3 separate regions of the Homo sapiens genome follow, and all the other regions are linked to region 1. The links are contacts of gene promoters, found by promoter capture Hi-C in blood cells and fetal thymus (Javierre and others, 2016). All regions are on one chromosome and are shown on one strand. The core of a region is centred on a gene start or on the middle of the fragment in contact, and the rest is flanking DNA. Distances in the headings are between cores, read along the strand shown.

Region 1 (4,676 bases), core at 1,136-3,635:
AGTCTCCTCCATCCCAGTTCCTTAATTAAATGCATGGAAAGAACCGAGGCGAGCACATCTGGTTTCAATCTACAGCCCTTTGATGGCATCAAATGTTCTTTTCCCAGATCAGGGCTGGAAGTTCTGGGCTAACTATGGCCGTTTGGAGCCCAGAAACCATTTACACACACTCGTACCCTTCTTTCTCTCCAGTCGAGCCTCTTGACTATAGGACGAAAAAAAAAAAAAGTCTAGCAATCAAGGGAGTGCGGGAGTACGGATGCGTGTGTGTGTGTGTGAGTGCGCGTTTAAAGAACATAAAACGCCACAAATAAGCACTTAATATTTTACTGAGTCGTCATACAGTAACTCATTTCTAATGAGACTGTTAAAGCTGTTACCAAATTCCAACAGGTCATGAAAAAACTGCTCAGCACCTCTCTGTCTTCTGTCAGGTTAGGGCTCCGCAGACGGACGACAGAGGATTATCCGTAGACTTAGATGGGGGTTCCTCCGCCCCTCTCTGTCCTCCTGCCACCACAGCCAGGCTGGACGCAGAACCGCACGGAAGCCTCCCCAACTCCTGCCTCTGGGAGTGCTCCTGCCTGCTTCAAGGAATCTGGGCAGCGGGACCCTCTGGGTTTAGCGTCCTCGCCTGGGGAAGCAACTTTGGCCTTACCGTAGAAGTTACAAAATTGGCGGGGGTAGGGAGAAAGATTATAATATATATTTGGAGTCCTTTCTTCCAGTTTAATAAACACGTACTTTTCTCATTGCCCTAGTCCTGGTATGCCTAATGGCGGGGAAAGCCTCAAATAAACTCGGTGCCCTCTGGATCTCCCCAACCTGCCTTTAGTCCTTGCGAGAGGCGTGAGAGAACTTCCTATTATCATCCCTTTTGTTATTTTTATTACATTATTTAATAGGCTCCCTCTACGGAACCAAAAATAGCCTTAATATGCTTACTTTCTCCCTGTACTCCGCCCCAAACTGTTAGAACAGCAGAAAATTTTTTTTTGGGGGGGGGCGGTTTGGGGGAAGGCAGAAGGAGAAGAAAATTTGATTGTGATGGTGGTGGATTTTTTCCAAATTTCCCCACAGCTGTTATCAAAACATGCAAATGAGATTTTCCAACAGGATCTTAAACAAATCTGGAGGAGTTAATGCCGAAGCAAAATAATCAGCACGTTTGAAGTGACTGTGAGTTTCAGTTTGTCTTTTCTCCCCGTGATATTATTGCAGGGGAATGATAATTAGACCTTTAGAAATCCAAAGGGGCTCTCTTGCTCTCTTCCCTCTCTCATTTCTCTTCTCTCTTTCTCTCTCTCTCTCTCTCCCTTCCTCCCTCCCTCCCTCCCTCTCTCCCTCCCTCTCTCTTGTTCCCTCCCTCTCCCTTTCTCTCTAACTCTGATGTTGGCAAAGGGGGTTTTCTTAATCAGACTGTTTTTTGGTCCCAGGGAAAGGAGGAAGAAGGAGATTGTGATGGAGAAAGGGGGTCTGTGAAACGTCAGGCACAGCACAAAGGCTTTGCCACGTAATTACAGGCTCCTATTAAGTCGAGATCTGCCCTCCCAGGGGTCTCCAATTTTCTTGTATTCCCTACAAAGCCTCCTCTGCATGCCAGTTTGTGCCTTTTGAAGTGCCAGAGAGCTTCTTGATCCAACTGAGAAGGAAAAAGGAGCCCAGCAAGAAGAGGGGGAGAGAGAGAAGGGGAAAGGGGGGAACCCACCAGCACCCTCCGTCGGACTCTTGAAGCCTTTTTTTTTTAATTCTTAATTTTTTTTTTTACTCTTTACAAAAAGTAAAGTGAGAATCCTGCTCTCTAATACATCTGCAAGACATCACCCTCTCCTCCTGAAACTTTAGTCACTCCTGAGAATCCACAGGAGTGCAGAGAGGGGGGAACACGTTTTCTTGAAGATGTTTTAAAGCTGGAACAAGCCTTCTTCTGTTGGTGCTTGAACTCTTGCCTGGGAATAACTTTTTTAACCTTTAAAAAAACCATTCACTTTGATTCTTCTCTCCCACCCCTTCTTCTCTCTTCTTCTGTTTGCCTAACTCCCCCGCCCTGCTGGCCTCCGCTTTCCTCTCTCCCCCTTGTTATTATTTTTAGTCTGTGCGTGTGGACACTTTTGGAGAGTTGGAAGGGATTTTTTTCTCCTGACTTGAACATAGGGTGACTTTTTAATATTGTATTTTACTGTGGATTATCTCTTTGGACCGCGCCGGACTTGGCCTCAGGAAATCAACCAATGCTGCGGAAGGCGGCTGGTGCACAACGCTCTGCTCTACAGAAGGGGGTCCCCCACCCTCTTTTCCAATTTTTTTTTTTTGGCCTTCCTCTCCTTCCCTCCCTCTTCCTCCCTCTCTCTCTCTCTCTCTCCACTACCCCCCTCTTTCTTCCCCACTCGGCTCCTCTCCCCCCTCGCGCCCACAGCGTTTGGTGTTGATTCGAGCGGGAAGAGGGGGGTGGGTGGGATCGGTGGGGGAGACCATGACCTCCAGCTACGGGCACGTTCTGGAGCGGCAACCGGCGCTGGGCGGCCGCTTGGACAGCCCGGGCAACCTCGACACCCTGCAGGCGAAAAAGAACTTCTCCGTCAGTCACCTGCTAGACCTGGAGGAAGCCGGGGACATGGTGGCGGCACAGGCGGATGAGAACGTGGGCGAGGCTGGCCGGAGCCTGCTGGAGTCGCCGGGACTCACCAGCGGCAGCGACACCCCGCAGCAGGACAGTGAGTGAGGGGCGCATGCCCACGGGGGTGTGTGCCCGGGACAGAGGGCGGGGACCCGTGTAGGGCAGCTAGAGCCCGTCCGCGGCCAGAAAGACAAGGTCCTGGGACCAGGAGAGGTGATGGCAGACTTCAAAGGAAGGGCCAGTCACAGGGGAAACCAGATGAGAAAAGCGGGTCTCGGCCGAGGGCATAGCCAAGGAGGACGCTGGAGAGAGGCTCCAAGGTCCGGGGACACTCCGAGGCCCTGCGGTCTCAGGCAGGGACTCTGTCCGCGGCGGACTCTCTTTACTTCGGCTAGGCACCGGCTCGGTTCATCCCGCACGCGGGGCGGCGGGGCTGGGCTGGGAAAAGGTCTTAGCGGGGTGCAAACTCAGAGAGCCAGCGCTGTTTGGGAAAGCAGCAGGTTAAAGATGCTGAGTCGGGTTGGAAGGGCTTCTCTCGGGCAGCGTATGACGGCTTGAGGGAGGGCACCAGGCACAGGGAGCAGGACTTGGCGCTGCTCAGGCTGCACTCTCCACGCGGGCACCGTAAGGCCGGGCGCGACCGGGAGGCCCCGAGAGAACGCCCGGCCCCAGACGCTGGAGCTGCTCTCTGCCCCCTGCTGTTGCCTCTACCGCAAATGGGTTTGAGACTGGCAGAGTCAAAAGCCCGGCTGGCTTGGGAAAACTCGGGCCAAGCAAAGGGAATGTCCTTTAAGGGTGAAACCTGAAATCCAGCCCCGCATGATCCCGCACAGGCGAGCTGCATCCGGGAGGCGCGAGCTTCAGTGCGGAGGCCAGTGTCACCTTAGAGGAGCTCTCCCTATTGGCTCTTAAACGCCCAGAAAAGTCCAGTTTCCCTTCCCCATCCTCACCGACCAACCTCGCGACCCATGAAAATCTCGCTTCGCTAGTGCCTTAAAAAGAGACTGCAATTGTATCCCCATGCCCCCAAGTCTGTAACAGACCGGTCACCCTGTTCATCCCAGGTGACATGTGGCCAGATATGTACAGATACTCCCTCTTCTCCTCGAGGTTGCAAGAGTCTGAACTTAGCTGTAAGTTCTCAAATGAGGCTGGTTGCTTTCTATGTCAGTAGTTGCTGGTTACCATTTTTGTCTTCAAATTTGGAAATCGTGGAACCGGGGGGCCCTCCAGCATTCTATGATTTTCACAAAACGTTGCCTATTTCAGACTCTCAAAGAATAGACATACAAATCAAACTGCACATAGAAACAATTGGAAACAGGGTCCGGGCACAGTGGTGGCCCCGCGGGCCACGCTACAGCAAGCCGCAGAGAGAGCCTCTGGTGTGCTCAAGACGCCTGGTCTTCACCCTGCTTCCTTAGTTCCGGCCTGGGCGCCCCTGGGTGTTTTTAGCCAAAAGCGGCCTAGGGCCGATCCACCCAATGCATTAGCAGACTGCTACAGGAACTGAATGAGGAAGTCTGGCCTGGACACCAGAGAAAGGTGGCCAACTCTGAGGAATGAAGAACCAGGTGTCCTCAAGTTCCGCATAAAGGGCTAGGCGCAGAGACAGAGACGTTCTCTTTAGGGTTTGGGTGCTTGAGAGGCTGCACCCGCAGCATTACTTAAGTGTTTGCATAGGCACTCTTAGTTCTAACAAAATGCACTGAGAAATACTATGATTGTTTTTAAACGTTTTACCAGGGAAAATGAAAAACGAAAAATGTAGGGAGAGTCCAGGCGCGGTGGCTCACGCCTGTAATCCTAGCACTTTGGGAGGCCGAGGCGGGCAGATCACGAGGTCAGGAGTTCGAGACCAGCCTAACCAACGTGGTGAAACCCCTCTCTCCTAAAAATACAAAAATTAGCCGGGCGTAGTGCCGAGCGCCTGTAATCCCGGTTACTCAGCAGGCTGAGGCAGGAGAATCGCTTAAACCCGGGAAGCAGAGGTTGCAGTGAGCCCAGATAGTGCCACTGCACTCCAGTCTGGATGACAGAGTGAGACTCCGTCTCAAAA
Region 2 (4,554 bases), core at 1,223-3,722, 320 kb before region 1:
AATTTGGGTTTGGGGAGAGAGCTTTTTTCTCTGTGTAAATTTTAGTAGATGTTGGTCTACTTTTTTGTTTTGTTTTGTTTCTTGCCATTGCTGGGTTCACCAGCTTTAAGTACCTGTAGTGCACATGAGCTTGTGAGAGGTCCTCTAAGTGGGCTTTTAATGGTCTGTTGAATAAAGCAGCTACCAGTTCAGGAAATGCATGCATTTTATAGGTGCATATTTTCAAAGCTTCTATTTGTGAGTGCCAGTTGAGAAGTGCCTTTTTATGTGTTCTTCACAGACCCAGTATAGCAATAAAGACTGCCTCTGGAAGCATTAAAAAGCAAAGAAGAAATTTCCATGTTCCATTTATGCTTCTAATATAAAAAATAATAATTTTGTGGTTAAAAAAATCTTACCTTTGGAAAGTTATTTGAGCCCATCAGAAAATTACAATTTCACAGGCGTGGCAGTCAGATTCATTGAATACATTAGTCAGTGATATTTGTAATCAAGGCATGGGATCTTAAAGAAGGTAAGAAGTAATTAGTAGTTACAACAAAACTCTTAGTCTTCAGTTTTCTCATTTTTTTGTGTTGTGAACATTACCTCCCTTTTAGTTTTTAACTGTAGCAAACATGTACCACATACTAGAGATCCTTGAACTTGTCAGTTAGCAGAACATCTGGAAGTAATAGCAACCTTTGCACAACACCATTTAATATTGACATATTAAATTTAAAATAACAGAATATATAATATGACACCAGGTTTTATTAGATATTAATAAAGGCAATGGGTAACAGCACCAAATATTTAAGAAAAAAATGTGGTGGGAAACCTTAGATTTGAAAGATATTTTATTAAATTTATTTTTCTGAAAAATTAAAAAGATTGCTATTATTCATATTTAATGGCACAGCACCCTGACTAAAATTATGGGAAAATGGTCTTCCATAGAAGGTATAGCTTGGTAACAAGTATCATGAGTACAAACACATGAAAATTTTGAATAAGTTTGTAGAGAGCTTATGTATTATAAGTTTGACTTTTTCAAAGTTGCTTTAAAGTTCCTGGAATTGTCTAAGCCAAAAACCAAAGGGAAAATACAAATAAGCAAATGCTGATGGATTTGACTACACACAATGTAAAACCAGTTTGTTGCATAAAACACTATAAGTAAAATTAAAAGGGAAAAAAAGACAAATTGGAAAAAATATTTGCAACATTTATTATAAAGCATTACTATAAAATGAGAATTTTTATAAATCAATAAGTGAAAGACTAATACTCAGGTAAAAATTGGTGGGCAAAAAACATAATAAGCTATTTATAAAAGAAGAAATACAAGCAGGCAATGTACACAGTAAAAATTATTCAACATTATTGCAACGAAATGCAATGAAATAACATTTATTTCTACCAGCCTGCAGGTTTAGGGAAGTGGATGCAGTCATACACTGCTATGTATGTTGGCGCAATTTTCAGAAAAATAGTTTGGGATCGTCTATCAAAAGGCTTTAAAATGTTTATACCTTTAATGTAATAAATAGTTTCAATTCCAGACCTGTTGCTATCTCTCATTGTTTCCCTTACACCAACAGTTTTGCTGGCATTCATGGTATCACTATTTGCAACTGAAAAATTATAAACAAGTCTCATTGTCTAATCCTAAAGAACAGATTAAGTAAATTGTGATGCAGCACATGATATCATACTATGAGCTGTGTAATTATTATGCTATAGATCTTTCCTTATTGATATTAATTTGTATTCTTAATATTAAATTTAAAATGAGCTTCAAAGATGTATTATGCTATGATTCTATTTCTGTTAAATTATATATTCAGATTCAAAAGCTGGAAGCTTGTATATCAACTGTTTATGCCATTTTATCTGGGTGGGTTGAATTACACGTGTTTATTTTGTTTTTCAGCCTAAACCTTTTTTTTTTCCTGTATTGATTATTTGTGTTAGACTGAGAAAAAAATGTATTTTAAGTTCCATCCTGCAGAAGCTGTCTAAGGAGATCAAATGACATATCTAGCTCAAGATATATCATTACCACTAACAATCTTTTTTTCCTCTAAACACAACTTCTCTTACAGATTCTTCCTTTCTAGAATGTTTTTCACCCATTTTATTCATGGGTCATCTCAGCCAGTGATGACTTTCATATTCTCCCAAGGGATCATAAGGTTTGTTTCTATGCAATAAACTCTCCCAATCACTAGTAATGAAATCAAACCACGCTAAATTAAGGTCTTTGTTAGAGAAAGGCCAAGTCAATGGATAGTTTTGTAGGATTTGAATGAATTGATGAAGAAATAAGTCAGACTCTTGGCTTTCATCTTACTTCCAGCCTCTGGAATAAGAATGTTAACTCAGCCAATTTAATGTTTAGGAAAATCAAAAAAAGAAAAAGAGAACAAAATTTTAAAACTTCCGTGTCCAAGCATTAAGATACTAACTGATCAAGTCAAGATTGCACCACTGCACTCCAGCCGGGGTGACAGAGCGAGACTCTGTCTCAAAAAGAAAAAAAAAGATACTCACTGATCTTATTTTTGAGCACCTATCCAAAGGAGATTAGAATGCTCAAAATCTGCTTAAAATGAATAAACTTGAAAGAAAAACAACAGAAACAATATACAGGTTTTGGAACTGGTGAGACCTTGGGTGCTCCTAGATCAGCCATGCATCTTGCAAGGCTCTGAGCCCTGTACTCTTCCATCCTTGCATCTTGTAAGCTGTGAGAATAGATGAGGCATTTAATCCTTCTGAGGTGAAATAATGCCAAAGTAAGGTTGTTAGAAATATTAAATAAAATTACATACATCTTGCATTAGACTATTGATAAATATCAGTTTCCTTCATCCCAGAAGATAAATATGAGGGCAGAGGAGGAGAAAGCAGGAAATCTCCCTCTTCTCTAACCCCCATGTTCAGAATTTCAGTGTGGTGGGGGAAATATATATGTGTTTGGAGGGAGATAAATAGGTATATGTTTGGGGAAGGAGAGAACATTTTAAGATAATTTTAACATCCATCTGAAAATAAGAACTAAGAAAAATCCATGGTCATAAAGTATAGTAACTACTAAGATATTGTAGAGCCCAGGAAAGCTTTGGGCCTGCAACACATAGATCATTATTTTTGAGAGTCAGCAGGTTCTCCCCTTGCCCTGCCTGCCAGATGGTGCTGAGCAATCTTAGCTATGCCACTGAATGCCTACTTCAGTCTTGCTCTTTGCCAAATGAGAACACAATATTTTTTATCTCTTAGAATACACCAACAAAATATAATGATTTTAAAAAATGCTTTGGGTGCTAGAGAAGGTAGTATTTCCACCCAAATTATTGTAGTTTTTGTCATTTTTGGTGTGGCTGAAGGTATGAGTTTTATCTTGGAAGTCCAAAGCTGGAAAAAATTCCATCTCAGTTCCAGTTAAAGTGAGAAATGCTATGGAGGAGACCTGAAATTTTAGGAGCTCTTGAAGCATGATGAGTAAATAGGTAGGAAGTTTAATGAAAAATAAACATTTTGTGATGGTGGGGGCTAAGTTTGTGGGTTGGGAAAATAGGAATGAACATATGGTGTGTACCTCAAATGGATGTGGTTTGAGAGAGTTGCTGTGAATTAGGCATATCACAAATGTGAAACACATCTACCACAAGGTCTACTATTGTGGGTTTGAATTTGAAATACTGAAGTGTTTCTTTAGGATCAAAGCTTTGGCAAGGGAAGGTGGGCACAGGGACAGGTTCCAGACTGGCCAGAAGCAAAAACTTCAACTTTTCCTCAGGAGACACGTAGTCTGAGAAAATGCTGTTGGTTGCTCAAGTATATATGTTCACATTTACTTTGGAGCATTTTTTTTTCCTATTGCTTAAGTAAAAATGCCTCTTCTTTAGAAATGAGCAATAGCTGGTAGCTGTTGATTTTCTGTCTCGGTGTCTCTTCTCCCCAGTCCTTTTGAGGCCTATTAGCACTTCCTGCCTGAACCCTCTGGAGGAAAGACAGAGAATATGCCTAATGAGTCGCAGTCTTTTTCTTCTACCATAAGCCTGGTTTATGAAGTCAAAATGGCAAATAAAATATGAATGCTCATGTATTTAGAGGAGAAGAGGACCTGGATAGACAGGTCACTATCTCAAAGCAAAGAGAGCAGGACCACTCGATTCCATCACAGCAGGAGCACCCAGCTGGCAAGGACAGCCCTCAGCATTCACACCAGATGTCTACTGAATCTTACAACCTTCTTGGGAAGTTAATTTTAAAATAAAGGCAAAGCACACAACTGGCAAAGTTCCTGTGATGGAAATTGGAAATGTCAGGGAACAAAGAACACAGGAAATAAAAGTTCTCTTTAGGTGCAGCTCCCTGAGCTACATCCAAGAAGAGTAAGGCAAAATCCCATTCCCTGCCACAAACCCACCACTCATCCTGAAGGACTGAAACCCGGAGAGTAAGTTGGCCTTATTTTCTCTGCACCTCTTGACAATTCCCCATTCCTGCTCTCACAGCTTTCTTTTATTCCCTCCAAATGGAGGACTTTAAATAAAGTCCTTTCTC
Region 3 (4,398 bases), core at 1,583-4,082, 430 kb before region 1:
CTACAGTAACCAAAACAGCATGATACTGGTACCAAAACAGAGATATAGATCAGTGGAACAGAACAGAGCCCTCAGAAATAATGCCGCATATCTACAACTATCTGATCTTTGACAAACCTGACAAAAACAAGCAATGGGGAAAGGATTCCCTATGTAATAAATGGTGCTGGGAAAACTGGCTAGCCATATGTAGAAAGCTGAAACTGGATCCCTTCCTTACACCTTATACAAAAATTAATTCAAGATGGATTAAAGACTTAAAGCTTAGACCTAAAACCATAAAAACCCTAGAAGAAAACCTAGGCATTACCATTCAGGACATAGGCATGGGCAAGGACTTCATGTCTAAAACACCAAAAGCAATGGCAACAAAAGCCAAAATTGACAAATGGGATCTAATTAAACTAAAGAGCTTCTGCACAGCAAAAGAAACTACCATCAGAGTGAACAGGCAACCCACAAAATGGGAGAAAATTTTCGCAACCTACTCATCTGAAAAAGGGCTAATATCCAGAATCTACAATGAACTCAAACAAATTTACAAGAAAAAAACAAACAACCCCATCAAAAAGTGGGCAAAGGACATGAACAGACACTTCTGAAAAGAAGACATTTATGCAGCCAAAAAACACATGAAAAAATGCTCACCATCACTGGCCATCAGAGAAATGCAAATCAAAACCACAATGAGATATCATCTCACACCAGTTAGAATGGCGATCATTAAAAAGTCAGGAAACAACAGGTGCTGGAGAGGATGTGGAGAAATAGGAACACTTTGACACTGTTGGTGGGACTCTAAATTAGTTCAACCATTGTGGAAGTCAGTGTGGCGATTCCTCAGGGATCTAGAACTAGAAATACCATTTGACCCAGCCATCCCATTACTGGGTATATACCCAAAGGACTATAAATCATGCTGCTATAAAGACACATGCACACGTATGTTTATTGCGGCATTATTCACAATAGCAAAGACTTGGAACCAACCCAAATGTCCAACAATGATAGACTGGATAAGAAAATGTGGCACATATACACCATGGAATACTATGCAGCCATAAAAAATGATGAGTTCATGTCCTTTGTAGGGACATGGATGAAACTGGAAATCATCATTCTCAGTAAACTATCGCAAGAACAAAAAACCAAACACCGCATATTCTCACTCATAGGCGGGAATTGAACAATGAGAACACATGGACACAGGAAGGGGAACATCACACTCTGGGGACTGTTGTGGGGTGGGGGAAGGGGGGAGGGATAGCATTGGGAGATATACCTAATGCTAGATGAGGAGTTAGTGGGTGCAGCGCACCAGCATATCACATGTATACACAGGTAACTAACCTGCACAATGTGCACATGTACCCTAAAACTTAAAGTATAATAATAAAAAAATTAGACATTTTTGTAATTCTTTTTTCTCTTTGATATTTTATTTCCATTCCACTTCCTCTTAGACTTTTACACCAATGCAATATAATTTTAAAAGTGAATATCTGTTATTGGTTACCCTTTTATATGCCTATACAACAAAAATTTTAAAATTTCCATTCTGTGTTTTTTTCACTACCTCCATAGTCAGAACTTTATGTCTAAATTTAGATTCCTTTTGCTACATTTTTAGCTCTGCCTACTAGTTGCAATAAAAATTTTCTATGGTCCTAGAGTTTGAAGACCTATAATTTTCTTCTGTATTATCATAACAGTTATTTTTCATATGGAAGTGATCAAAAATACACACAAATTATAATTTTTAAATATCAAAAATAATATTGTATTGGAGATGCTTTTCTTAGCATGATCGGTGGTCAGGTTTTATGGTGCTTTGATTAAATGAGGTGACACAAATATTTCAAATTATTCCTTTGTTTGACATCCCAGAGATTATTACATCGCAAGACAATGCATCGCTCCAGCAAGGATAACAAAGCGAATGGGAAGGAAAGGGTTATGAAGAGTTCATGGAAGGCACCTTAGGCAGACTACTTTTAGGAAAGAGTGGATGTGGAAGCTAAGTATCTGGAAATTGATTTCCTTAGAACAGTTTGTGTTTGCATGTCTTCTGAAAGGTTTTATGTACTCCCAAGAGTAAGTATACCTGTTTGAAGAAGCTGCTCAATATAGTTCTTAAAATAGTCTACAAACATGTTACCCCAGCATAGTAAGAAATAGGAGTACAGCCAGAAATGAGAGTGGGAATGATTAGAGAGACCTCTTTGAGGCCTTGGTCGTGGGCAGGAGCACAGTGGGCCGGGCTCTTTCTAGATGTGCTTTAATCATCAGGAATTCTGATACAATTATATTTTGACTATGATATATAAGCTTCATTTGATTACTGTTGCCAAATATTTTTTGCTCTTCACGAAGTAAACCTCTTTTTAAAACTTTTTAACTGGCAAATAATAATTGCATCTATTTAGGGAGTACATTGTGATGTTTTGATACATGATTACATTGTGGAATGATTTAATCAATCTACTTAAATTTAGTGAAAATAACTTAAGCTATTAATCTCAGCCTTGGTGGCTTCTCCTAATTTATGCTTACACAAGAGGCTATCTTCATTGTGAAATGTCACAGACTCTCACAAGCAAGAGAAGAAAATGTAGAGAAGCCCCTCAAATAAAATGCATTAGGTTAATTCATACCGACAAATGTGACACACTTAAAATTGTTCCTAACATCAGTTCATGATTTATTTCAAAAGTTCTTAATATTCAAAAATGCTCAATAATTTAAAGTATTTCAATGTATATAGCAAATAAACCCTGCTATTAAAACAAAAGAATCAGGTTCATTTCAGAAGAGTGAAAACTAGCAAGATCTTACTGTAAATCAACTGTTTGTTTTCAATTATTTGGCATGAGATCTTACATATTTTTAACCCATGTTTTAATTCTCGTAGATACCCTGTTGCAAAAGTTCTGAAACATTGTGAGAAAAAGTGTTTTTGTAGCACTTTGGCAATGGGAGCCTCACTTCACTCTGTTATGTAATGTCCCATCCAGTTTTTAGTTAAACCTGGAAACACCTTTGTCCTTAGGTGAAGCAGCAAGTCTTGCTTAAGCAAAGCTGGTGAAATCAGAGCCTGGTCCAAGGCTCAGAAGCGTTTGCGGGGAAAAGCAAACACTTTTTGTGGGAGAAGGAAACAAAGGAGAAGAGAGGAGGAGGAAGAAATTGAAAAAGAAGGGGAAGAGAAGAGGAAAAGAAAAAGAGACGTTGAGAGAAAGAAAAACAGAGAGCTGTGTGTGATTGGATGCCATGACTCCTCAGTCTTAGTGCTAATGCCGTTGTTACCTAACTCTATTTAGGGAACTTTCCAGAACAAAGCGAAGCTTTGTGGGCCTGGCTTTCAGAACTTATGCAACAATTGTTTTGGGAGCAGACTGAAAATTTTACAAGAGAACTGAGTTTTCAAGAGACTGACGGTGTGACCAAAAGATCAAAGGTTTGGTGCAGTGGGACTAAGTTTCAGGCAGCCTTTCAAATTGTGAAGACTTTCCTCCCTGTTATGGCAGTTAAGACATGTGAAAATGGTAGTTCGAGACACTTATAAGCAACTTTCTTCTTAGTTCACAATGTTCCATGAATGTCAGTGCCCTCCAAACTCACGAGAACAAAGCAGGCAACCAGGATGATTACTCCCAAATCATTGATAAAAGGAGAGAGAAGTACAGAGATACACAGTGATTTGTGTGGGTTGCCAAAAAGTTGCACGGTCAGTTTGACAACTGTTATTGCCTTCAGGTTGACAAATTGCAAAAGCAGCATTGCTGTGTATGGGTGGGGAGGGAGGAGGAATTGCATGAGTAAGAATGAGATGAGCAATAGTTAGGTGGGGTGGAAATGAAATCTCAACAGTTATTGGGGATTCTGATGTATTTATCAAACCAAAAGACGATCTAAAAGCCATACAATCAGACTTAGATTAGGGCAGTCTGTGATAAGCAAAAGTTAATATAGTGTGTTGTTTTTGAAAATATGGCATGATAATTAATAGCAACTCTTTTTGTATACTTGCTTGGTTAACAGGAGGAAACACAGATAAATTAAATACTGGTTAGCAATCTTTAATAACCAGGAGATGCTTAACATTTATTTAGAAATCTGCAACATTTTATAAATCATTGTTTTGGCTTCTGGGACAAACTCAGAATCTGGAACCCACGGAAACCCTTCAGTTACACAAAGGCTTTCCAGTTCATTGCTACTGCACTGAAGAACAGTCTTCACAACTATACCTGGAACTTACTAGGCCAAGAAGGCAAGGCGTTGGTATGTGTTTTTATTGTAGTTAAACTTATCTGGATTTAAAAGGCATTAACTATCTTCTGATTTCTTCCTTTTTCTTCAATTGTACAAGAGTGTTTCAATTGAATATTGCAACTGAAG

What was found. Contacts are between HindIII fragments. The CHiCAGO score rates a contact against its expected background, and 5 or more counts as called.
Region 2: a fragment that was not itself captured here is called in contact with the fragment with the promoter of PRRX1 in region 1 in 1 of 17 cell types (megakaryocytes); the score reaches 5.2 in megakaryocytes.
Region 3: a fragment that was not itself captured here is called in contact with the fragment with the promoter of PRRX1 in region 1 in 1 of 17 cell types (megakaryocytes); the score reaches 5.7 in megakaryocytes.

The regions. Positions count from the first base shown.
Region 1 is chr1:170,661,746-170,666,421 of GRCh38, forward strand. PRRX1 (paired related homeobox 1) reads left to right here and starts at 2,386. Exons shown (of 4, transcript NM_022716.4): 1 at 2,386-2,714. The coding sequence starts at 2,474. RefSeq lists enhancers at 1,291-1,818, 3,019-3,879. The HindIII fragment of the contact is 9,244 bases long and covers 1-4,676 here.
Region 2 is chr1:170,343,110-170,347,663 of GRCh38, forward strand. No RefSeq gene overlaps it. Among named protein-coding and RNA genes, the nearest start is that of LINC01142, 61 kb to the left of the region's middle. The HindIII fragment of the contact is 1,259 bases long and covers 1,844-3,102 here.
Region 3 is chr1:170,235,861-170,240,258 of GRCh38, forward strand. It overlaps LINC01681 (long intergenic non-protein coding RNA 1681), which reads left to right. Exons shown (of 5, transcript NR_146891.1): 3 at 4,370-4,398. Among named protein-coding and RNA genes, the nearest start is that of LINC01142, 46 kb to the right of the region's middle. The HindIII fragment of the contact is 1,013 bases long and covers 2,327-3,339 here.